6 separate regions of the Homo sapiens genome follow, and regions 1, 2, 3, 5 and 6 are each linked to region 4. The links are contacts of gene promoters, found by promoter capture Hi-C in human tissues and cell types (Jung and others, 2019). All regions are on one chromosome and are shown on one strand. The core of a region is centred on a gene start or on the middle of the fragment in contact, and the rest is flanking DNA. Distances in the headings are between cores, read along the strand shown.

Region 1 (3,761 bases), core at 730-3,229, 480 kb after region 4:
CAAAGATTCAACACTCTCAACCAGCTGCCACCTACAGAATCCCTCAACTACCTGTGCCTTCTAACCCCCCTTCCACAGGTCCCACCCTTTCTGCCAATGGAACTTACACCTTCCAGGCACTGATTCATGATTTTCCCTGCAATTCCTGTCTCTCTGAAATGAATAAAACCAAACTGTCTTGAGCTGCCTCGGGACCACTTACTCCAGGCTGCTTGGGGTTGTGTTTCCCTCGGCCAACGGCTCTCCTATTCGGCTCCTAATAAACTTCTTTATTTTACATAGCTTGGCTTTTTCCGTTGACAAACCACAAGCCAGGACTGGGTGTTTCTCATTCGTGAATCGTTGTTGTTGTTTTGAGATGGAGTCTGGCTCTGTTGCCAGGCTGGAGTGACGCCGTCTTGGCTGACTGCAACCGCCGCCTCCTGGGTTCAAGCAATTCTTCTGCCTCAGCCTCTCAAGTAGCTGGGATTACAGGCACGCGCCACCATGCCCAGCTAATTTTTGTATTTTTAGTAGAGATGGGGTTTCACCATGTTGGCCAGGCTGGTCTTGAACTCCTGACTTCCTGATCCGCCCGCCTCGGCCTCCCAAAGTGCTGGGATTACAGGCGTGAGCCACCGCGCCCGGCCCTAAACTCTTTAATTGTTAACGTACCTCAGTTTAATTTTTAACAGAAAAAAGTGGGCACTGGGGACCCCAAAGACCGCTACTCCTCCCACACGAACCTGTCAGAGATGATAAATTACTTTTCTAAAAGCTTTAGTAAGCTGTTCTTTGTTTCTTGAGACCGACTTCCTTGTCTCCTAGCTACCTGTTCTGTAAACAACCTTCCCGCTTTTGCCGCGCCCAGACAAGTCCAGATACGCCTTCCCGCCTAGTAACGGACAGTCCCTGTTCCTTCCCGTCTCATAGACCCTATTTAATTTGTGTGTGTGTGTGTGTGTGTGTGTGTGTGTGTGTGTGTGTGACGGAGTTGCCCAGTTGTCTCGCTCTGTTGCCCAGGCTGGAGTACAGTGGTGCGATCTCGGCTCACTGCAAGCTCCACCTCCCGGGTTCACGCCATTCTCCTGCCTCAGCCTCCCGAGTAGCTGGAACTACAGGCGCCCGCCACCATACCCAGTTAATTTTTTTGTATTTTTAGTGGAGACGGGGTTTCACCGTGTTAGCCAGGGATGGTCTCGATCTCCTGACCTCGCGATCCGCCTGCCTCGGCCTCCCAAAGTGCTGGGGTTACAGGCGTGACCCACCGCGCCTGGCCAGACCCTATTTAATTTTAAACCTTAGCCTATCGAGTTAGTTTAGATTGTGAGGTCCAACCCTAGCCAATGAGGAAAGGACACAGAAGTGCTAGAAACTGCGTTAAGGAGAAAAACCCCTGCCCTACCCCGCTCGCTGTGCTCTTGTGACTGGCGCAAGCTGCACCCTTGTGTAGAAATAAATTTGCTTTGCTGAGGAATTTTCTGCCTAGATGCTGGTTTTCTTTGCGGCACCGGGCACTTGTTTCTAACAAACCCCATATCCGAGGCGGGATCCCCCCATATCCCTCCCGTGGCCCCCGCATAATGTGGGGAGACGCGGAGCTGCCCAGATTAGGCTCCGGAGCCGGGGCCGCAGTCGCCGTGAAGGGACGGGACAGGAGGCCCGGGGTCCCGGCTGCCGGCCCAGCCCCACCCTGCGACCGAGGGGACTCGCGTCCACGACCCCGGAGTCGCCGCGTGGAGGCCCGGGTCCCGCCTCAGCCGGTTCCGGCCGATTCCAGCCCCTCTCCCAGTCGCCCGGACGCCAGCCCCCTCACACACACCATTTCTCGGCTTCCAGGGTGTTCCGGCGTCCTCTGCGTGGCTCCCGCGACTAGTGTAGGTCACAGTGCAGGTTACAGAGCGACAGAAGCTCTGGTGGAGGCACCTAGTCCCTCTCGAAGCAAGAAAGCCGAGATCCTGACCGCTGTCGGCGCAGCACTAAAGGAATGGACGGAGGGCGACTGTCCCTTCCCCCTTCCCCGGATGGACAGTTGACAGGGCCCCGCCCCAGCACCCCTGATTGGATGGGGCGCCAGGCCCCGCCTCCTCCGTGCTGAGTGACAGCAGAAGCCCTGGGTAACCGGGTCCTGCAGATCATGTCTGACTTGTTCTGGCCACAGCGTCTCTGAGCGAGCAGCCTCTCTAAGCGAGCAGCCTCTCTAAGCGAACAGCCTCTCTAAGCGAGCGCCTTCCTTGAGCCCTGGTCATCAGATATTTGCATTTCAAGGCGACTTGCTCCTTATTGTTAGAAGAGGCACTGTTAGCTTCCTCATTCAAGGGGCTGTCCCTGCTCCTTCCTTCTGCACGGGATCACAAGTGTGTGCAGGGCATTTCAGACTCAGTGTTCAATGGAGAGATACGCTTGCCTCAGAGCAGGAGGGGAGCCCAGACCAGGCAAGGCACGACTGCACCAGGAGAGAGAGGCAGATGTCTTCCAGCGTGCGGGAAATGGGATGAGGCATGGCCAAGGCTTCCTCACACTGCTATGGACTCCAGCAAGGTTTTCCTTGTAAGGGAGCTAACCAAGCCAGAACTTATTAAAGATTTAGAGGCTCTCAGTACTATGTATATCTATCCCTGGTGCATTGACAGTGACTGAAGACCCATTTTTCAGGACATGCTGTGTAGGACTGAGCCAGGGAACATGATATAGCATGGCACTTTTATCTCACATATAACCCCCAAGGAGCAGGGTTAACTGAAATGAAAGATGGTCTCAGGGGAAGCTGTAAATGAGAAATTCTGTCATAGAAATTATGATTTAGGCAGGCCGGGCGCGGTGGCTCATGCCTGTAATCCCAGCACTTTGAGAGGCTGAGGCAGGTGGATCACGAGGTCAGGAGTTCAAGACCAGCCTGGCCAACATGGTGAAATCCTATCTCTACTAAAAATACAAAAATTAGCCAGGAATGGTGGCGCATGCCTGTAATCCCAGCTACTTGAAAGGCTGAGGCAGGAGAATTGCTTGAACCGGGAGGCAGAGTTTGCAGTGAGCCAAGATCGTGCCACTGCATTCCAGCCTGAGACACAGTGAGACTCCATCTCAAAAAAAAAAAAATTATGTTTTAGCCATCTTTTTTTGAGACGGGGTCTCACTCTGTCGCCCAAGCTGGAGTGCAGTGGTGCGATGGCTACTCAATGCAGCCTCAACCTCCCAGACTCAAGCAATCCTCCCACCTCAGCCTCCTAAGTAGGTGGGACTACAAGTGCCTGCCACCATGCCTGGCTAGTTTTTTATTTTTGGTAGAGATGAGGTCTCATTCGGTTGTTCAGGTTGATCTCAAACTCCTGAGCTTAAGTGATCCTCCAGCCTCAGCCTCCCAAAGTGTTGGGATTACAGGTGTGCGCCTGGCCTCTTGGGCATCTTCATTGCTCCACACCTTACAATGATAAATTCAATATTCTGTGAATATTTCCTGGAGAAATTAGCACAGCCATAACTTGTGATAAGGTAAATCAGGTGTTGAAATTTGAACATTCCTGGAAACTTCATTTAATAAACCTAATTTTGCTTATGTGTGAAAGTATTCATACATATTCATTGTTCAGACACAGATAACCATGGCAAGATGAGGTGCTATGAAAAACTATGTTGGGACAACAGGTACTATCAAGGATTATCACTGGCAAACCGGGACACATGGTCAGATGATTTCTGAGGCAGTTTTGTACCTTATGTAAAGGTAGAAAGTGTTGGAACTAGAAGACATCGAGCTGGAGTCAGTTGCAGAATTGATGCTT
Region 2 (3,748 bases), core at 847-3,346, 350 kb after region 4:
TCAAGAGATAAGACCAGCTCTGGCTAAGTGATGGTCAAAGGTGTGGGCAGAAGACAACCCTCCAGGGCTGGCAGTCAACCAAACCCCCGTACCTACAGAAGTTAAGCCTGGGGCCCAGCCGGTCAGGCAAAAACAGTACCCGGTTCCCTAGAGAAGCTCTTGAAGGAATCCAGGTCCACCTCAAGCACTTGAGAGCCTTTGGAATTATAGTCCTTTGCCAGTCTCCATGGAACACTACCCTCCTGCCTGTTCCCAAGCCAGGGACCAAGAACTACAGGCCAGTACAGGACTTGTGCTTGGTCAATCAAGCTCAGAAAGAAAGCAGGTCATCTGCAGCCTATTGCAACCTAAAACCAGAAGGCAGGTGAGAGAATTCTTAGGAGCAGTAGGGTTCTGCAGACTGTGGATCCCAAACTTTGCAGTACTGGCCAAACCTCTATATGGGGTCACAAAGAGGGGTGCTGGGAACCTTTTGAATGGGAATCCCAACAACAGTGAGCCTTTCATGAGTTAAAGGAAAAACTTATGTCAGTCCCAGCCCTGGGGCTACCTAATCTAACAAAGCCTTTTACACTGTGTCAGAAAAAGAAAAAAAGGCAGTTGGAGTTCTAACCCAGACTGTGGGGCCCTGGCCAAGGCCAGTGGCCTACCTTGTACCCACTTATTCTAAAGAAGAAAAGGACTTTCTCCAGGCAGAGGGAGGACAGGTGATGGAAGAAGGATGGATGTGGTTACTGGATGGGAGAGTAGCTGTGCCACAGCTGCTGGGAGCCACAGTCATACTGGCTGTGCATAAAACCACCCATCTAGGCCAGGAGTCACTTCAAAAGTTGTTAAGCCGGTACTTCTACATCTCACATTTATCAGCCCTTGCTGAAACAGTGGCACAGCGATGTATTACCTGCCAACAACACAATGCAAGGCAGGGTCCAACCGTCCCGGCTGGCATACAAGCTTATGGAGCAGCCCCCTTTGAAGATCTGCAGGTAGACTTCACAGAAATGCCAAAATGTGAAGATAACAAGTATTTACTAGTTCTTGTGTGTACATACTCTGGGTGGGTGGAAGCTTATCCAACGCGAACTGAGAAAGCTGGTGAAGTAACCCGTGTGCTTCTTCAAGATCTTATTCCTAGGTTTGAACTGCCCTTACGAATTGGCTCAGATAACAGGCCAGCGTTTGTGGCTGACTTGGTACAGAAGACAGCAAAGGTATTGGGGATCACATGGATACTGCATGCTGCCTACCAACCTCAGAGTTCCGGAAAGGTGGAGTGGATGAATTGGACTATCAAAAATAGTTTAGGGAAAGTGTGTCAAGAAACAGGATTAAAGTGTGTACAAGCTCTCCCTGTGGTATTAAGATTAAATTTACCCCTTCTAGAAAAACAGGATATTCCCCTTATGAAATATTATATCATAGCCCTCCTCCCATAGTATGGGGACTTCCAGGCACTCCCTGAGAATTAGGTGAAATTAAGTTACAGCGACAGCTACAGGCCTTACGAAAAATTACACGAACAATCTCAGCCTAGGTAAACGAGAAACGCCCCATTAGCTTATTCTCCCCAGTTCACCCTTTCTCCCCAGGTAATAGAGTGTGGATCAAGGACTGGAATGTAGCCCCCTTGTGCCCATGGTGGAAGGGACCACAGACCACTCACACCACCGTGAAGGTAGAGGGAATCCCGGCCTGGATCCACCACAGTCATGTAAAACCTGCAGCTCCTGGGAGGCAGGACCAAACCTGGAAAACCCCTGCAAAGTGACTCTGAAAAAGACGACAAGCCCTGCTCCTGTCACACCTGGAAGCTGACTGGTCTATGTGCGGCCAAAGCATGAGGAAACTCATCATGGGACTTATTCTCCTTAAAATTTGGACTTGTAGAATAAGGACTTCAACTGATTTTCCCCACATGGAAGATTGTTCCCAGTGTATTCATCAGGTTACTGAGGTAGGGCAACAAGTTAAAACAATCTTTCGGTTTTCTAGTTATTATGAATGCCTAGGAACTTTAAAAGGAACTTGCCTGTATAACACCACTCAGTACAAAGTGTGTAACCCAGGAAATGCCCGACCTGATGTGTACCATAACCCATCTGAGCCTCCCATGATCACAGTCTTTGAAATAAGATTTAAAAACTAGTTCTTTTCTAGGTAATAGAAGTAAAAAAAATAGCTAAAACAGAAAAAAAAGAGACCCCCATTTACATGCTCAACCGGATCATATGGTTACAAGCTATCTTAGAAATAATCACTACTAAAACTGGCAGAGCTTTAACTGTTTTAGCCCGGTAAGAAACCCAGATGAAAAATGCTATCTATCAAAATAGACTGGCCCTAGACTACTTGCTAGCAGCTAAAGGAGGGGTCTATGGAAAATTTAACCTAACCAATTGCTGTCTGCATATAAATAATCAAGGGCAAGTAGTCAAAAACATAGTTAAGGACATAACAAAGTTGGCACATGTGCCTGTACAGCTTTGGCATGGGTTTAATCCTAAATCTGTATTTGGAAAATGGTTTCCAGCACTAGGAGGATTTAAAACACTTATAATAGAAATAATAATAATAATAGAAACCTGCTTGTTACTCCCCTGCTTGCTACCTGTGCTCCTTCAAATAATGAGAAGCTTTGTCACTACCTTGGTCCACCAAAATGTTTCAGCACAAGTGTATTACATTAACCACTATTGATCTGTCTTGCAGGAAGACCTAGGTAGTAAGGATGAAAGTGAGAACTCCCATTAATAAGTGAGATTCTCAAAGGGGGGAATAAGGAAGGAGACCACCTCTCTTATTGTCTCATACCTCAGAACAAGAAAGAGGAAGCAAAAGTTAAAGGAAGGCAGAAATGAGATCAATAGTCAGACAGCCCGGTGCCACACCCCAGGCCTGGTAGTTAAAAATCAACTCCTGACCTAACCACTTGTATTATCTATAGATTCCAGACATTGTATGAGAAAGCACTGTGAAAGTCTTTCTGTTCTGCTCTGTCCTGTTACCGATGCATGCAGCCCCAATTACACACTCCATCCTTGTTTAATTGATCACGATCCTTTCATGTGGATCCCTGTGTAAGCCTTCAAAAGGGGCAGGAATTTCTCTCTCTCTGGGAGCTCGGTTTTTAAGACGCAAGTCTGCTGACGCTCCTGGCCGAATAAAGCCACTTCCTTCTCTAACCCAGTGTCTGAGAGGTTTTGTCTGCGGCTTGTCCTGCTACAAATCCAGGGAGAAAAACGAGCTGCCTGGGCTGTCCCTAATGTCTCTTTGGACTGTGGGTCTGTAGCACCTGTCATAACGGAGTCCTATGAATTAATAGGCAGAAAAAAGTTAACATTAGCAGTCCTGAGGCTGTGTTTCCTTGAAAATGCCTGTTCCCAAAGTGTAATCTTTGATGACATTGTTAGAGAAGGCAGATAGCTAGCCAAGAGCAGGAGGGGAAGTCCAGGGGAAAGCCCACACCCCCAGGGACCACCCAAAACAGGCATGCTAGATATAAGCAGAGAGGAGGGGAAACACCTAAGTAGAAAGAAACATCCATTATGATGCCCAGGAATCATTCACTTTGCAGTTATCCTGTCAGAATGCAGCTAGATAGATGCTGGTAAGAAGGGCAAAGGAAAGGGGACATTCCTAAGCAAAACCTGGCACCCTAAGTGCACAAGAGGCCAAACGAGAAACTCCTAAGAGATACCAGGTGTAATAAGCACAGATTCAACCACTATACAACCTTCCTGGGGTGGCA
Region 3 (3,285 bases), core at 367-2,866, 390 kb after region 4:
ATCATGTCATCTGCAAACAGGGACAATTTGACTTCCTCTTTTCCTACTTGAATACCCTTTAGTTCTTTGTCCTTCCTGATTGCCCTGGCCAGAACTTCCAACACTATGTTGAATAGGAGTGGTGAGAGAGGGCATCCCTGTCTTGTGCCAGTTTTCAAAGGGAATGCTTCCAGTTTTTGCCCATTCAGTATATGATATTGACTGTAGGTTTGTCATAAATAGCTCTTATTATTTTGAGATACATCCCATCAATACCCAGTTTATTGAGAGTTTTTAGCATAAAGGGCTGTGGAATTTTGTCGAAGGCCTTTTCTGCATCTATTCAGATAATCTTGTGGTTTTTGTCTTTGGTTCTGTTTATATGATGGATTACGTTTATTGCTTTGCATATGTTGAATCAGCCTTGCATCCCAGGGATGAAGCCAACTTGATCGTGGTGGATAAGCTTTTTGATGTGCTGCTGGATTTGGTTTGCCAGTATTTTATTGAGGATTTTTGCATCGATGTTCATCAGGTATATTGGTCTAAAATTCTTTTTGTTGTGTCTCTGCCAGGCTTTGGTATCAGGATGTTGCTGGCCTCATAAAATGAGTTAGGGAGGATTCCCTCTTTTTCTATTGATTGGAATAGTTTAAGAAGGAATGGTACTAGCTCCTCTTTGTACCTCTGGTAGAATTCAGCTGTGAATCCATCTGGTCCTTGACTTTTTTTGGTTGGTAGTCTATTAATTATTGCCTCAATTTCAGAGCCTGTTATTGGTCTATTCAGGGATTCGACTTCTTCCTGGTTTAGTCTTGGGAGGGTGTATGTGTCCAGGAATTTATCCATTTCTTCTAGATTTTCTAGTTTATTTCCATAGAGGTATTTATAGTACTCTCTGATGGTAGTTTGTATTTCTGTGGGATCGGTGGTGATATCCCCTTTATCATTTTTTATTGCATCTATTTGATTCTTCTCTCTTTTCTTCTTTATTAGTCTTGCTGGCGGTCTATCAATTTTGTTGATCTTTTCAAAAAAACAGCTCCTGGATTCACTGATTTTTTGAAGGGTTTTTTCTGTCTCTGTCTCCTTCAGTTCTGCTCTGATCTTAGTTATTTCTTGCCTTCTGCTAGCTTTTGAATGTGTTTGCTCTTGCCTCTCTAGTTCTTTTAATTGTGATGTTAGGGTGTCAATTTTACATCTTTCCTGCTTTCTCCTGTGGGCATTTAGTGCTATAAATTTCCCTCTACAAACTGCTTTAAATGTGTCCCAGAGATTCTGGTATGTTGTGTCTTTGTTCTCATTGGTTTCAAAGAACATCTTTATTTCTGCCTTCATTTGTTATGTACCCAGTAGTCATTCAGGAGCAGGTTGTTCAGTTTCCATGTATTTGAGTGGTTTAGAGTGAGTTTCTTAATCCTGAGTTCTAGTTTGATTGCTCTGTGGTCCGAGAGACAGTTTGTTATAATTTCTATTCTTCTACATTTGCTGAGGAGTGCTTTACTTCCAACTATGTGGTCAATTTTGGAATAAGTGTGATGTGGTGCTGAGAAGAATGTATATTCTGTTGATTTGGGGTGGAGAGTTCTGTAGATGTCTATTAGGTCCTCTTGGTGCAGAGCTGAGTTCAATTCCTGTATATCCTTGTTAACTTTCTGTCTCATTGATCTGTCTAATGTTGACAGTGGGATGTTAAAGTCTCCCATTATTATTGTGTGGGAGTCTAAGTCTCTTTGTAGGTCTCTAAGGACTTGCTTTATGCATCTCAGTGCTCCTGTATTGGGTGCATAAATATTTAGGATAGTTAGCTCTTCTTGTTGAATTGATCCCTTTACCTTTATGTAATGGCCTTGTCTCTTTTGATCTTTGTTGGTTTAAAGTCTGTTTTATCAGAGACTAGGATTGCAACCCCTGCTTTTTTTGTTTGTTTTCCATTTGCTTGGTAGATCTTCCTCCATCCCTTTATTTTGAGCCTATGTATGTCTCTGCACGTGAGATGGGTCTCCTGAATACAGCACACTGATGGGTCTTGATTCTTTATCCAATTTGCCAGTCTGTGTCTTTTAATTGGAGCATTTAGCCCATTTACATTGAAGGTTAATATTGTTATGTGTGAATTTGATCCAGTCATTATGATGTTAACTGGTTATTTTGCTCGTTAGTTGATACAGTTTCTTCCTAGCCTCAATGGTCTTTACAATTTGGCATGTTTTTGCAGTGGCTGGTACCGGTTGTTCCTTTCCATGTTTAGTGCTTCCTTCAGGAGATCTTTTACAGCAGGCCTGGTGGTGACAAAATCTCTCAGCATTTGAATCTGTAAAGGATTTTATTTCTCCTTCACTTATGAAGCTTAGTATGGCTGGATATGAAATTCTGGGTTGAAAATTCTTTCCTTTAAGAATGTTGAATATTGGCCCCCACTCTTTTCTGGCTTGTAGAGTTTCTGCCAAGAGATCCGCTGTTAGTCTGACGGGCTTCCCTTTGTGGGTAACCCGACCTTTCTCTCTGGCTGCCCTTAACATTTTTTCCTTCATTTCAACTTTGGTGAATCTGACAATTATGTGTCTTGGAGTTGCTCCTCTCGAGGAGTATCTTTGTGGCGTTCTCTGTATTTCCTGAATTTGAATGTTGGTCTGCCTTGCTAGGTTGGGGAAGTTCTCCTGAATAATATCCTGAAGAGTGTTTCCCAACTTGGTTCCATCCCTGTCACTTTCAGGTACACCAATCAGACATAGATTTGGTCTTTTCACATAGTCCCATATTTCTTGGAGGCTTTTTCATTTCTTTTTACTCTTTTTTCTCTAAACTTCTCTTCTCACTTCATTTCATCCATTTGATCTTCAATTACTGATACCTTTTCTTCCACTTGATTGAATCAGCTACTGAAGCTTGTGCATGCATCACATAGTTCTCGTGCCATGGTTTTCAGCTCCATCGGGTCATTTAAGGTCTTCTCTACACTGTTTATTCTAGTTAGCCATTTTGTCTAATCTTTTTTCAAGGTTTTTAGCTTCTTTGTGATGGGTTCGAACATCCTCCTTTAGCTTGGAGAAGTTTGTTATTACCGATCATCTGAAGCCTTCTTCTCTCAGCTCGTCAAAGTCAAAGTCCAGCTTTGTTCCATTGCTGGCGAGGAGCTGCGTTCCTTTGGAGGAGAAGAGGCGCTCTGATGTTTAGAATTTTCAGCTTTTCTGCTCTGGTTTCTCCCCATCTTTGTGGTTTTATCTACTTTTGGTCTTTGATGATGGTGATGTACAGATGGGTTTTGGTGTGGTTGTCCTTTCTGTTTGTTAGTTTTCCTTCTAA
Region 4 (3,399 bases), core at 574-3,073:
CTAAAGTGTAGACATAGATTGCCAGCTATTTCTGCAGATAACACCACTATTGTAGATTAGCATTTGTAGACGTATTTTCAGTTTTTGTTTGTTTGTTTGTTTTTTTTTTGCATGTCTGACACCACCTGCACCTGCCAACTCTGCTCCTGTGGCCCCAACCAGAAGTGATTCAGCATAACAGGATAGGTTTTTTTTTTTTTTGTCTTTTTTTTGTTTTTTTTTGAGACGGAGTTTCGCTCTTGTTGCCCAGGCTGGAGTGCAAAGGCACGATCTCGGCTTGGCGCGATCTCAGCTCACCGCAACCTCCACCTCCCGGGTTCAAGTGATTCTCCCGCCTTAGCCTCCCAGGTAGCTGGGATTACAGACATGTGCCACCACGCCCAGCTAATTTTGTATTTTTAGTAGAGACGAGCTTTCTCCATGTTGGTCAGGCTGGTCTCAAACTCCCGACCTCAGGTGATCCGCCCGCCTGGGCCTCCCAAAGTTCTGGGATTACAGGTGTGAGCCACCGGGCCCGGCCTCTTTTTTTCTTTTTTAAATATGTAGCAGTACAAGCCGCAGACAAGAACCCCTCAGACACCGAGTTGTGGAAGGAAAGGGCTTTATTCAGCTGGGCTGGGAGCATCGGCGGACTCACGTCTCCAAAAACCGAGCTCCCCGAGTGAGCAATTCTTGTCCCTTTTAAGGGCTTACAACTAGGAGTCCGCGTGAGAGGGTCGTGATTGATGGAGCAAACAGTGGGTACGTGACTGGGGGCTGCATGCACCGGTAACCAGAACTGAACAGAACAGGACAGGGATTTTCACAGTGCTTTTCCATACAATGTCTGGAATCATAGATAACACAGTTAGGTCAGAGGTTGATTTTTAACTACCCAGCCCAGGGCACAAGCCGGGTTATCTGCCTGTGGATTTCATTTCTGCCTTTTAGTTTTTACTTCTTCTTTGGAGGCAGAAATTGGGCATAAGACAATATGAGGGGTGGTCTCCTCCCTTATAGTATAGAGACGGAGTTTCACTCTATGTCCAGGCTGGTCTTGAACTACTGGCCTCAAGCGATCCTCCCACCTAGGCCTCCCAAAGTATTGGGATTACAGCGGTGAGCCACCACGCACTGCCAAGAGGACAGATTCCATCCCCAGTGATTTCATCCCCACCCCAACCAGTCAGTAGCAAGCCTAGCTACCTCCACCCTTTCTCCCAAACTGCCCTTGAAAAACCCCTACCAGAGGACCTTGGATGAGAATAATTTGAGTAGTAACTCCGTCTCTCACGTATCGTAGCTGGCCTAGTGTTTATTAAACTTTTTTTTTAACTGCAATACCGTGGTCTTTATTTGCGTAGCGCGCAGAAAGAACCCATCCAGCGCTTATAGTGGAAGAAAGGCTTGACCTTGCAGGCGACAGCCTCATCCCAAATTCCTGGTCCCTGGAGGACATCAGCACCACCCCCCCACCCACCCACCCCCTGTCCCCCGCTGCTACAGTGTGGCCTGTGTGGCCTCGGCTGCCCTCCTGCTCTGAGGCCAAGGGATGGCTCCACTGGACAGTGAGTCTGGGATTCCTTGCACACAATTGTTCAGGAGGAAGAAGCAAAAAGGGCCCACTGCGTACAGGTAGGAAATTCCGCTTTAAGGCAAACGTTTCCCGGGACGGGTCGGGTCACAACGCAGGGAGGAAGCCCGCCCTGCCAGGGGCCGGGTCTGGAACCTGTTCATCCGGCTGCACTCAGCACTGTGAGATCGCTTCTTCTGTCACTCAGTGCCCAGGAGGCGGGACCTGGAGGGCTACCCAATCAAAGTCGTGGGCGGGTTCCTGAGAATTGTCAATCAGGCGCGAGGCAGAGAGGAGGGTGTGACGTTCCAGGAGCTAGTGGCCTCTTCACCCTGGTGACCTCTGTTCCGTATTCTGTCACTGAGAGACGCCCTGGGACATCTGTGGTGGCTTTTGTCGCGCTGGGACCTACCCTGACTACGGGAGTTGGGAGGACCCGGGACACCGCACAGCCGGGAAATGGTGAGTGTGCGGGGCCCGGCGTCCTGAGGCAGGGCGAAGGGCTGGTCGGAACCAGTCGGAACCGGCTGTGGCGGGACCCGGGCCTCGCCGCAGCGTCTTTGGGGTCTGGGACCTGAGCGCCCCCTGCGCACCTCGGTCCTCGGTCCGTTTGGCCGCAGGGTGGGGCTGGGCCGGCAGCCGGGACCCCGGGCGTCCTGTCCCGTCCCTGAGCTGCGACTGCGGCCCCGGCCCCGGCGCCCCTCTCTGGGCAGCTCCGCGCCCTCAGCCCCGCTTCTCCCCAGATTGTGCGGCGGAACCAGTACAGGTTCGCAGCCCAAGTCACTGCACCCGGACGCCGAGGGCTGCAGCAGAAACGGTTTAATAGGAGAGGACACCCTAGATCCGCCTCCGTGAGAGGTTTGAGGATGGGGTGTTTAGGGGTCTGGACGGGGGTGGTTGGGATGTGGGGTCGCTGGTTGGTGGAGAAGTGAGGGGTGAATCTTGGGACTGGAGGTGAAGAAACCGCATTCTGCTGCTGAGTGGGCTTCCTTGTGGGGTCTTCAGCCTGCTTGGCGCCAGCCTTTCCGCTGGAATTCAAGATCTGAGAAAGAACTTAGACGACTCTTGAGCAACTCTCAGAGATCTTATCCCCAGGCCAATGGGGAAGCCGGCGGTCAGCGTCTGCTGTGACCTGACTCTCAGGGAGGCGGCTTCCTGTGAAGCAGCGGGGCTGAGGGCACCTGGTTAATATCTAACTGCAATCTCGCCTCCAGCCTGGCTCGCAGTTCCTGTGAGCCCGGTGAGGAGGCTGCACGGTGACGGTGGGAGGGTCACTAGGCACAAACCAGACTCGTGTGTGGGGTTTGTGTGTGGGAGGAGCTGTGGTCTCTGTGCTCTTCAGTCCTTTCTTTCCAAGGGCGACCATTTCTCCTCCGAGGCTTTCAAAGATATTGGCATCAGGGTCTTTGAGACCTGTCCCTTCATCCTAACTCCTCTTGGGGCTAACAGTAAATCTTTTGGTTTCCAGAGCCTTCCATATGCTAACTTCACTCCTCAATTCCCAGTAACGTTATGAACCCTTTGTCAGCAAGACGATATTTCAAATAGACACAGAATTTTGTCGTTTGTTTTCAGATAGCAATGTATGGCTCTTTTTAAACAGATTTATTTTGTTTTCCTTAACATTTCACATGTGAGGAAGAAGAGAATAACCACCTGACACTGCTGTAAAAAAAACCAAACCTTTGTGCCTCTTTTATCTCCCCTAGGCACAGATGCCTTCTCAGTATGTCCTTTACAGGGTGATGTGACCTCAGCCCACCCTGTATCTTTTCCAGGCCCTGTGTTATGGAACTTTCTGGGGCTACCCTAAGATGCTGGAAGCTGCCAATCTCATGGAGGGCCTA
Region 5 (3,579 bases), core at 456-2,955, 500 kb before region 4:
GGTGCAGAGAGGGGAGGGCAGGGGGCGGGGGTCCCCTTCCCAATGTCCCCGCGGGCTTGAGTACCAGGCGGCGGGGCCAGCTCCGCCGCGATCGCCCCCTCTTCCCCTCCCTGTTAAATACACAAATATATTATATTCAATATGAATCGAGTCTGTTTCCAGCAGAAAAAAAACATACAAAAAAAAGTGGAAGGGGGGGCTTGTAAACGTCGAGGTGGAAGGACTGGGCGCAGGGTAGGAGGGCCGGAGTCCAGTGTGGTTTGCGGCGCCCCTAGGTCCCAGGGTGGGTGCCCACCGCCTGCTCCCTGGACCCCAGTGGGAGGCGTGTGCCCAGCCGTCCAAGCGAGGGGGTGTCCGTAAAGGGGCAGGGGACGTTCAGAAGGCGTGTCCCTTGACCCCAAGCAGCAGCTGACAGCCGTTGCTGACGTGGGTCATGACCTTCTGTTTGAGCTGGGCCACCTGCTCCCGGAGGAGGCCGGCGGTACTCGACAGCCCCGCGTTCTCGGCCTTGAGCGTCTTCACCTTGTCCTCCAGGCGCGCGATGCGCTCCAGCTTCCGCTTCCGGCACTTGGTGGCCGCCAGCCGGTTCCGCAGCCGCTTGCGCTCCACTTTGATGCGCTCTTGGTCTTCCATGTTGATGGGGGACACCGGCGGCGTGGCGTCCCGGCTGCGCGCCTCCGGCACGGTCTGCGGTTCCTCCTTGAAGGTGGAGGCGCCGCGGCCCAAGCCCAGCTGCGCCGGGTGGCCACCGGCGAAGGGCGGCGCGTGTGGGAGGTAGCTGATGGTGGTCGTCGGGTACGAGCTCCCGGTCCCGACGGCAGCCCCGGCGCCTCCCGAGGACGCAGAGGCTGGGGAGTAGCTGCTGAGGTTGGTGTAAACGGGAGGTGGCTCCGGGCCGGCGTAGACGCCCCCGGGCCCAGCCGGGGGCCCCCCGGTAGCGCCCAGGGACACGTTGGGGGGTGTCACGTGGTTCATCTTGTGCAGATCGTCCAGGGCTTTGACAAAGCCGTCGGCGAAGCCCTCCTGCTCCTCGGTGACGCCGCCCCCTGCGCCCCCTGCACCTCCACCGCTGCCACCCCCGCGGGGGTAAAAGTACTGTCCCGGGGGTGTAGGCGTCGTCGTGATCACGCCGTTGCTGTTGGGGACAATCAGGCGTTCCAGCTCCGAAGAGGCGAGCTTGAGAGACGCGCCGGTGTCCGAGCCCTGACCAGAAAAGTAGCTGCCGCCACCGCCGCCCTCTGGGCCGGGTCCGCGAGCCCCAGGCGCTTTGAGACTCCGGTAGGGGTCGGCCAGGTTGACCGCCAGGCTCGGTTTCAGGAGTTTGTAGTCGTGTAGAGAGAGGCCACCAGGGGCCCGGCCGTATCCCGTAGCTGTGTATGAGTCGTCGTGGTAGAAGGGCTGTTCCATTTTAGTGCACATCCGGGCGGCCCAGGCGGTCTGGGGAGGGTCCCTGCGGGGCCGCTCCGGGCCTCGCTGCAGCGAGCGGCGAGCTCTCCGCTGCGGTGACCGGACTGGGTGCCTGGTCGCGCGTTCTCGGGGGCTGGCGCGGGCGGGTAGCAGCCAGCCGGCAGCTGTGCGCAAAAGCCCTGTCAGGCTTCCCGAGCCCCCGTCGCCCTCTCTGGCGCGATAGCTTTCCTGGCGTCGTTTCCCCCAGCTCCCAGCTCCCTGCTGGCTCCGAGGCTGGCCTGGCCGCTCTCAAGGTCCCAGCCGCTCAGCCTGAGCCACACGCCTTTATACCGCGCTAGTCAGCCACGGAAGTGCGCTCCGATTGGCCGTCGCCGGAGCCGGGCCCCCGCGCCCCCCTCCTCGAGCGTGGGGAAGGGGAGGAGGCGGCTCGCGTCACTGTCAGGAAGCGCGTGTCCTTGTAAACAGCGGCCACGGGCCGGGTGGCTCGGCGGGGCTGCAGGGGGAGGGGCTCAAAGGACCTCGGGGTACGCATGGAAGGAGGTGCTGGGGGGCCCAGGCACATGAGTGAGGGGTTTCAGGGAGGAGGATGATTTCCCTGGAGTCCACTGGGACAAATACCAGGACCTGGTACGCAGCAAGTGGGGTGAGGGTCCCAGTATGTGCGAAGAAACCCCTGAGGTACCCAGAATACGAGAGGGGTAGGAGGACTGACAATCCATTGGGAGACCCCAAAAAGCAGAAATGAGGGTTAAGCACTGTAAATCGGGAGGGTTAAGGAGACACCTGACCCAGGAATTGACTGGGGGTCCCGGGCTCAGAAGGATGCGGGACTGGAATTTTCACAGGACGGAGGAGGGGAGAGATCAAAAGGGGTGAGTGGGTGGAGCTGCATGACCCATTAAATTGCAAGAAATGAGTAGGGGTCCAGGAGCTCATGGGAGCTGAGTCCAGAGTCTGAGGCTCTCCCGTAAGCGGGAAGGAGGCATTAGGGGAAGTCTAGATATGCAGAAAGCTAGTAAGCGGCCTGGGGTACACTGAGGCAGGTAAAATATGCCAGGTAGAAGATGGAGACATGTCTGCCAGAAATTGGGGACCACTGGGGTCATCTGCTAGCCCGGATGAAGGAGAGAGTTAGAAGGGGCCGGACACATCTTCGGAGCAGAGAAGACAATAAGAGGGTACTCAGTTGACATGTGAGGAGGGGGCCTTGAGGGTCCCGCGCACCAGGACTGCTGGATCTTCCACGACTGCTGCTCCCCCTCGATGGTAACCTCTTAGTCATCTGTATTCTCTGTCCCCCATCCTAAAACCCTCCCCTATTGACCCTGGGCTTTGCCCAACACCGTGTCGGCTCCTAGAGCCTGGACCCAGCCCGACGGCTGGGGCGCGGTCGCCCAACCCCACTCCCTTCCTTAGAAACAGGCTGGGGAAAGAGCGCAGAGGCAGGAAGTGTGGCAACAGCCCCGGGGGAAGGAGCCCGGCCCTGTCTCCGTCACTCGGATCCTACGGGACCGTGCGCCCCGCCCTGGGTCCCGCCGCATCCTGCGCCTCGGAAGAGGAACCTGGGCGTGCGAGCCCCCGCGGAGGCCCGGGTGCTTGGAGCCCGCCCAGCCGCGGCAGCCTCCAGCCACCATCCTCTCCCCTCAAGCAATGGTTCCGCCCGCGGTGCCTGCAGGGGACCGCGGAGGCAGGCGGCTTGGGGAGTGTTCCATTGGCCCGACGGCGGGGGACGCAGCCGAGGAGCGGGGCCTGGTCGCCATGGCAACAGGCGGGAGTCCGCGGGCAGGACTGAGCGCGGGCCGGCCCCCGAAGTCTCTCCCCGCCGCCCATATTAGGGCACAGGAAGAGGTGGGACCAGCGCTGTCCTGGGGCCCCGAGCCAGAAGCGGGGAACCCGACTATCTGCCAGGTCCCAGGGCGCGCCTGGGCCCCCAGACTGCTAGTCCCGACCAGCCCCGACCGCCGCCCCCGGGGCCCCCACGGCCGCCTGGCCCGGCCCCGCCCCACCCCGCCGCTTTGGGGCTGCGTCCTGCCAGGCCCGGCCTGGCCCAACCCAGCCCGGCAGGTCCCCGCCTGCCCGCGGGCCTGGGTCGGACTTCGCCCCCGGCCCGACGGGGCGCGGAGAGGGCGGGCCGATGCCTCGAGGCGCCCCCGGCGCCTGGGCGGGCTGGAA
Region 6 (3,588 bases), core at 249-2,748, 370 kb after region 4:
CCAGCCTGGCCAACATGGTGAAACCCCATCTCTACTAAAAATACAAAAATTAGGAGGGCATAGTGGTGCATGCCTGCAATCCCAGCTACTCAGGAGGCTGAGGCAGGAGAATCACTTGAACCCGGAAGGTGGAGGTTGCAGTGAGCCGAGATCAGGCCATTGCACTCCAGTCTGGGCGACAGGAGACTCCGTCTCAAATAAAAACAAAGTACCTTTCCAGCTAAGTGAAGTGACCGGCTCTTGGCCAACAGGACCCGCAAAAAACCCTGAAAATTGAGTGCCTCTGTATGACAGGATGGGAGGTGAGACAGGTCTCCTTATACCCTCTCCCACACATTCATGTAAAAATAGATAGAATGGAAAAACAGACTGCTTGTGGCAAGAAGATACTAACTTACAAACAAAACCTAAGGCCACGCAAGGCAAAAGTAAAGTCACGCCTCAGAATTCATAAAATCTAGAGAAACAGGTCTGTTTTCTGGCTGGGATGGAATCAAGTGGCAGATAACAGACCCCCTTCCTTCCTACCTCCTCCAAACTTTAGACAAACTTCACACTCTCAACCAGCTGCCACCTACAGAATCCCTCAACCACCTGTGCCTTCTAACCCCCCTTCCACAGGTCCCACCCTTTCTGCCAATGGAACTTACACCTTTCAGGCACTGATTCATCATTTTCCCTGCAATTCCTGTCTCTCTGAAATGAATAAAACCAAACTGTCTTGAGCCGCCTCGGGACCACTTACTCCAGGCTGCTTGGGGTTGTGTTTCCCTCGGCCAAGGTCTCTCCTATTCGGCTCTGAATAAACTTCTTTATTTTACATAGTTTGGCTTTTTCCGTTGACAAACCACAACCCAGGACGGGGTGTTTCTCATTCGTGAATCGCTGTTTGCTCAAATGAACTCTTTAATTGTTAACGTACCTCAGTTTAATTTTTAACAGGAGAAAGTGGGGACTGGGGGCCCCACAGACCACTGCTCCTCCCACGCACGAACCCCACACCCGAGTCAGGATGCCTCCATGACCCTCCCGTTGCTTCCGCACAATCTGGGGAGACGCGGGGCTGCGGGAGCGGAACTGCCCAGAGAGGGCTCCGGGGCAGGGGCCGCGGCCGCAGTCGCCGCGCAGGGACGGGACAGGACGCCCGGGTCCTGGCTGCTGGCCCAGCCCCGTCCAGCGGCCAAGGGGACCGAGGGCCGAACTGCTCAAGGAGGACTCGGTCCCAGACCCCGGAGTCGCCCACAGGGAGGCCCGGGTCCCGCCACAGCCGGTTCCCGCCTGTTCCAGGCAGCCCCTCCCCCGTCTCACGACATCTGGTCCCGCACACGCACCATTTCCCGGCTTTCAGATGTACCGGGGTCCTCTCTACAGCTCCTGTGACTACAGCAGGGCATAGCGCAGGCGACAGAGCGACAGAAGCCTGGGTACAGGCACCAGGTCCCTCTCGGGCTGGTCTGACCGGTTACCAACCGCCGCCCGCGCAGCGAGGAAGGTGAGGAAAGCGACCCCCTCCATTTCCGGATGAACTGTGGGCAGTGCCACGCCCCAGCACCTCTGATTGGATGAAATACTAGGTCCCGCCCCCCACATCTGAGTGACAGCTGAAGCCCTGGGTATCAGGCCCCGCAGAGCCAGACTGACGGATTCTAGCCACAGCTTCTCTAAGGGCGAGCTGCTTTCTGCACTCTGGTTATTGGATATTTGCATTTCAGCCAAACTTGCTATTGATAGAAGAGAACACTAGCGTCATCCTCACTCAAGGGACAGTCCCCGCTCCTTCGTTCTGCACGGGGTCACAGGAGTGTGCAGGGAATTTCAGACTCAGTGTCCATAGGAGCCAACTGCTGGCCTCAGAGCAGCAGGGGAACCGAGACCAGGCCAGGCACGACTGCACCAGGAGGAGAGGCATATGTCCTCGAGCGGGCCGGAATTGGGGATGAGGCGTGGCCAAGCCTTGCTCACACACCCCCATCCCCTTGTGAAAATGCTTCCTCCTTTCAGATCTTCATTTTCACCAGCAGGAAACTCTCACCAGGTTTTGTTTCTGACCTAAGTAAACTGTCAACTTCATGAACCCTTTATCCAGGTGACGCCACCAAACAATTCTGTCTCTAGCTCTAGCCTGATCTTCACACATTTTCTTTTCTTTCTTTCTTTTTTTTTTTTTTTTTTTGAGACGGAGTCTTGCTCTGTAGCCCAGGCTGGAGTGCAGTGGTGCGATCTCGACTCACTGCAAGCTCCGCCTCCCGAGTTCACGCCATTCTCTTACCTCGGCCTCCGGAGTAGCTGGGATTAAAGGCGCCCGCCACCACGCCCGGCTAATATTTTGTATTTTCAGTGGAGACGGGGTTTCACCGTGTTAGCCAGGATGGTCTCGATCTTCTGACCTCTTGATCCGCCCGCCTCGGCCCCGCAAAGTGCTGGGATTACAGGCGTGAGCCACCGCGCCCGGCCACACATTTTCTTTATCTATACAAATAACTCTGACCCCAACGACCCCATGCATGTCAAACCCCAAACCCTGCCCAGAAGACAGCTCCAGAGGTACAACACCAGAAAGGACAGAGACGCCACAAATGCGTCTGCACATGGGTCTTCTGCTTTCCAGGGCTCTGCAGCTTCTCGGAATCCACACCCTTTCTGGAGCTGCTCTGAGCAGCTGGAGGCCACTTGTAGAAGGGGGTGGGCTGCCCGCGAAGCCCCCAGGGAAACTCTCTTTCCCTCCCTTTGCAGGCTGCAGAGACTGTCCTCAACGTGGAATCACTGGCCTTGGGCTCTGCTGCCCCCTGCAGGTTATTCAGCTACTTCTCACCCCATCGATTAGTTTCGCGAGACAAACACCTTCAATCCCATTGTGTAAATAAGACACCAGCAGAGTCCCTGCTCTCCTCCTATGCTTATGTATAAAGTGGGGGAGGAAAAATCTAAGATAACTTAAGGGCATTTGAAAGACTTCCAGATCGCGGTGGAGGTGGCAGCTGAGGGACTCGCAGTCAATGACACTGCAGCACCTCCAGGCCAGGCTGGTGGGAGAGAGGGTGGAGAGCTGGAGATGGATGTGGATAGGTGGAGGGAGCTGCCCTGGGAACTGGGCTCTGCAGCAGTGCGGCTCTAGGGCCCGGAGCCCGGGAGAGCAGAGATGGGGGCTCCCAGGACAGGAAACTCAGGGAGGAGAGAGTCGGGTGGCTTCCATGGGACGGGGTGCTGTTGCAGCTTGTGTGAGCCAGTAGCTATCATAACTAAGCCCAATCGGGACGTGAAAACTTGGATTCCGTGGGAATTTATGAAGAGGAAGGCTCTGATGACAAAGAAGTCATCGATGAGGAGGGGGATGAGGGTCACTGGCAAGCTTGCTTCCTTATGGAAAGAAAAGTGAACACCCAACTACTGCTGCAAAATGGGATCAAAGGATGAGACTCTCGCTGTCAGGGAATAAACTGCTGCAGAACTCTTAGAGATTGCAAAGACCTTTCAACAACAGCCTGGGAGGCCAGGTGCCATGGCTCATGCCTGCAATCCCAACATTTTGGGAGGCCAAAGTGGCAGGATCACTTGAAGCCCGAAGTTGAAGACCACCCTGAGCAGTGA

The links. The method cuts DNA at HindIII sites, captures the fragments that hold promoters and counts their contacts. A contact is called where the count stands out against the background at its distance.
Region 1: a contact is called between the fragment with the promoter of ZNF440 here and the fragment with the promoter of ZNF44 in region 4, in 4 of the 25 tissues and cell types used here (H1 embryonic stem cells, aorta, lymphoblastoid cells and 1 more).
Region 2: a fragment that was not itself captured here is called in contact with the fragment with the promoter of ZNF44 in region 4 in 4 of the 25 tissues and cell types used here (dorsolateral prefrontal cortex, lymphoblastoid cells, pancreas and 1 more).
Region 3: a fragment that was not itself captured here is called in contact with the fragment with the promoter of ZNF44 in region 4 in 4 of the 25 tissues and cell types used here (aorta, dorsolateral prefrontal cortex, stomach and 1 more).
Region 5: the fragment with the promoter of JUNB here is called in contact with the fragment with the promoter of ZNF44 in region 4 in 1 of the 25 tissues and cell types used here (aorta).
Region 6: the fragment with the promoter of ZNF700 here is called in contact with the fragment with the promoter of ZNF44 in region 4 in 1 of the 25 tissues and cell types used here (mesenchymal stem cells).

The regions. Positions count from the first base shown.
Region 1 is chr19:11,812,491-11,816,251 of GRCh38, reverse strand. ZNF440 (zinc finger protein 440) reads right to left here and starts at 1,979. Exons shown (of 4, transcript NM_152357.3): 1 at 1,802-1,979. The coding sequence starts at 1,804. RefSeq lists silencers at 1,575-1,644, 2,065-2,144. The HindIII fragment of the contact is 18,958 bases long and covers 1-3,761 here.
Region 2 is chr19:11,941,936-11,945,683 of GRCh38, reverse strand. All of the region lies in intron 1 of ZNF700 (zinc finger protein 700), which reads right to left. It also overlaps a transcript of ZNF69 not described here. Among named protein-coding and RNA genes, the nearest start is that of ZNF700, 19 kb to the right of the region's middle. The HindIII fragment of the contact is 3,474 bases long and covers 360-3,748 here.
Region 3 is chr19:11,906,620-11,909,904 of GRCh38, reverse strand. It overlaps ZNF69 (zinc finger protein 69), which reads right to left. Exons shown (of 4, transcript NM_001364730.1): 4 at 3,209-3,285. Among named protein-coding and RNA genes, the nearest start is that of ZNF700, 17 kb to the left of the region's middle. The HindIII fragment of the contact is 5,350 bases long and covers 1-3,285 here.
Region 4 is chr19:12,293,307-12,296,705 of GRCh38, reverse strand. It overlaps ZNF44 (zinc finger protein 44), which reads left to right and starts at 1,823. Exons shown (of 4, transcript NM_016264.4): 1 at 1,823-2,014. The coding sequence starts at 2,012. RefSeq lists an enhancer at 1,439-1,488 and a silencer at 2,039-2,268. The HindIII fragment of the contact is 22,646 bases long and covers 1-3,399 here.
Region 5 is chr19:12,789,612-12,793,190 of GRCh38, reverse strand. It overlaps JUNB (JunB proto-oncogene, AP-1 transcription factor subunit), which reads right to left and starts at 1,705. Exons shown (of 1, transcript NM_002229.3): 1 at 1-1,705. The coding sequence starts at 1,419. The coding sequence ends at 376. It also overlaps a transcript of HOOK2 not described here. RefSeq lists silencers at 907-1,016, 1,387-1,966, 2,827-3,579, cis regulatory regions at 1,446-2,000, 2,840-3,360 and enhancers at 1,731-2,342, 2,643-3,142. The HindIII fragment of the contact is 17,444 bases long and covers 1-3,579 here.
Region 6 is chr19:11,923,017-11,926,604 of GRCh38, reverse strand. It overlaps ZNF700 (zinc finger protein 700), which reads right to left and starts at 1,498. Exons shown (of 4, transcript NM_144566.3): 1 at 1,332-1,498. The coding sequence starts at 1,394. It also overlaps a transcript of ZNF69 not described here. RefSeq lists a silencer at 1,036-1,235 and enhancers at 1,626-1,735, 1,786-1,835, 1,283-1,855, 2,012-2,801, 2,802-3,588. The HindIII fragment of the contact is 4,963 bases long and covers 1-3,588 here.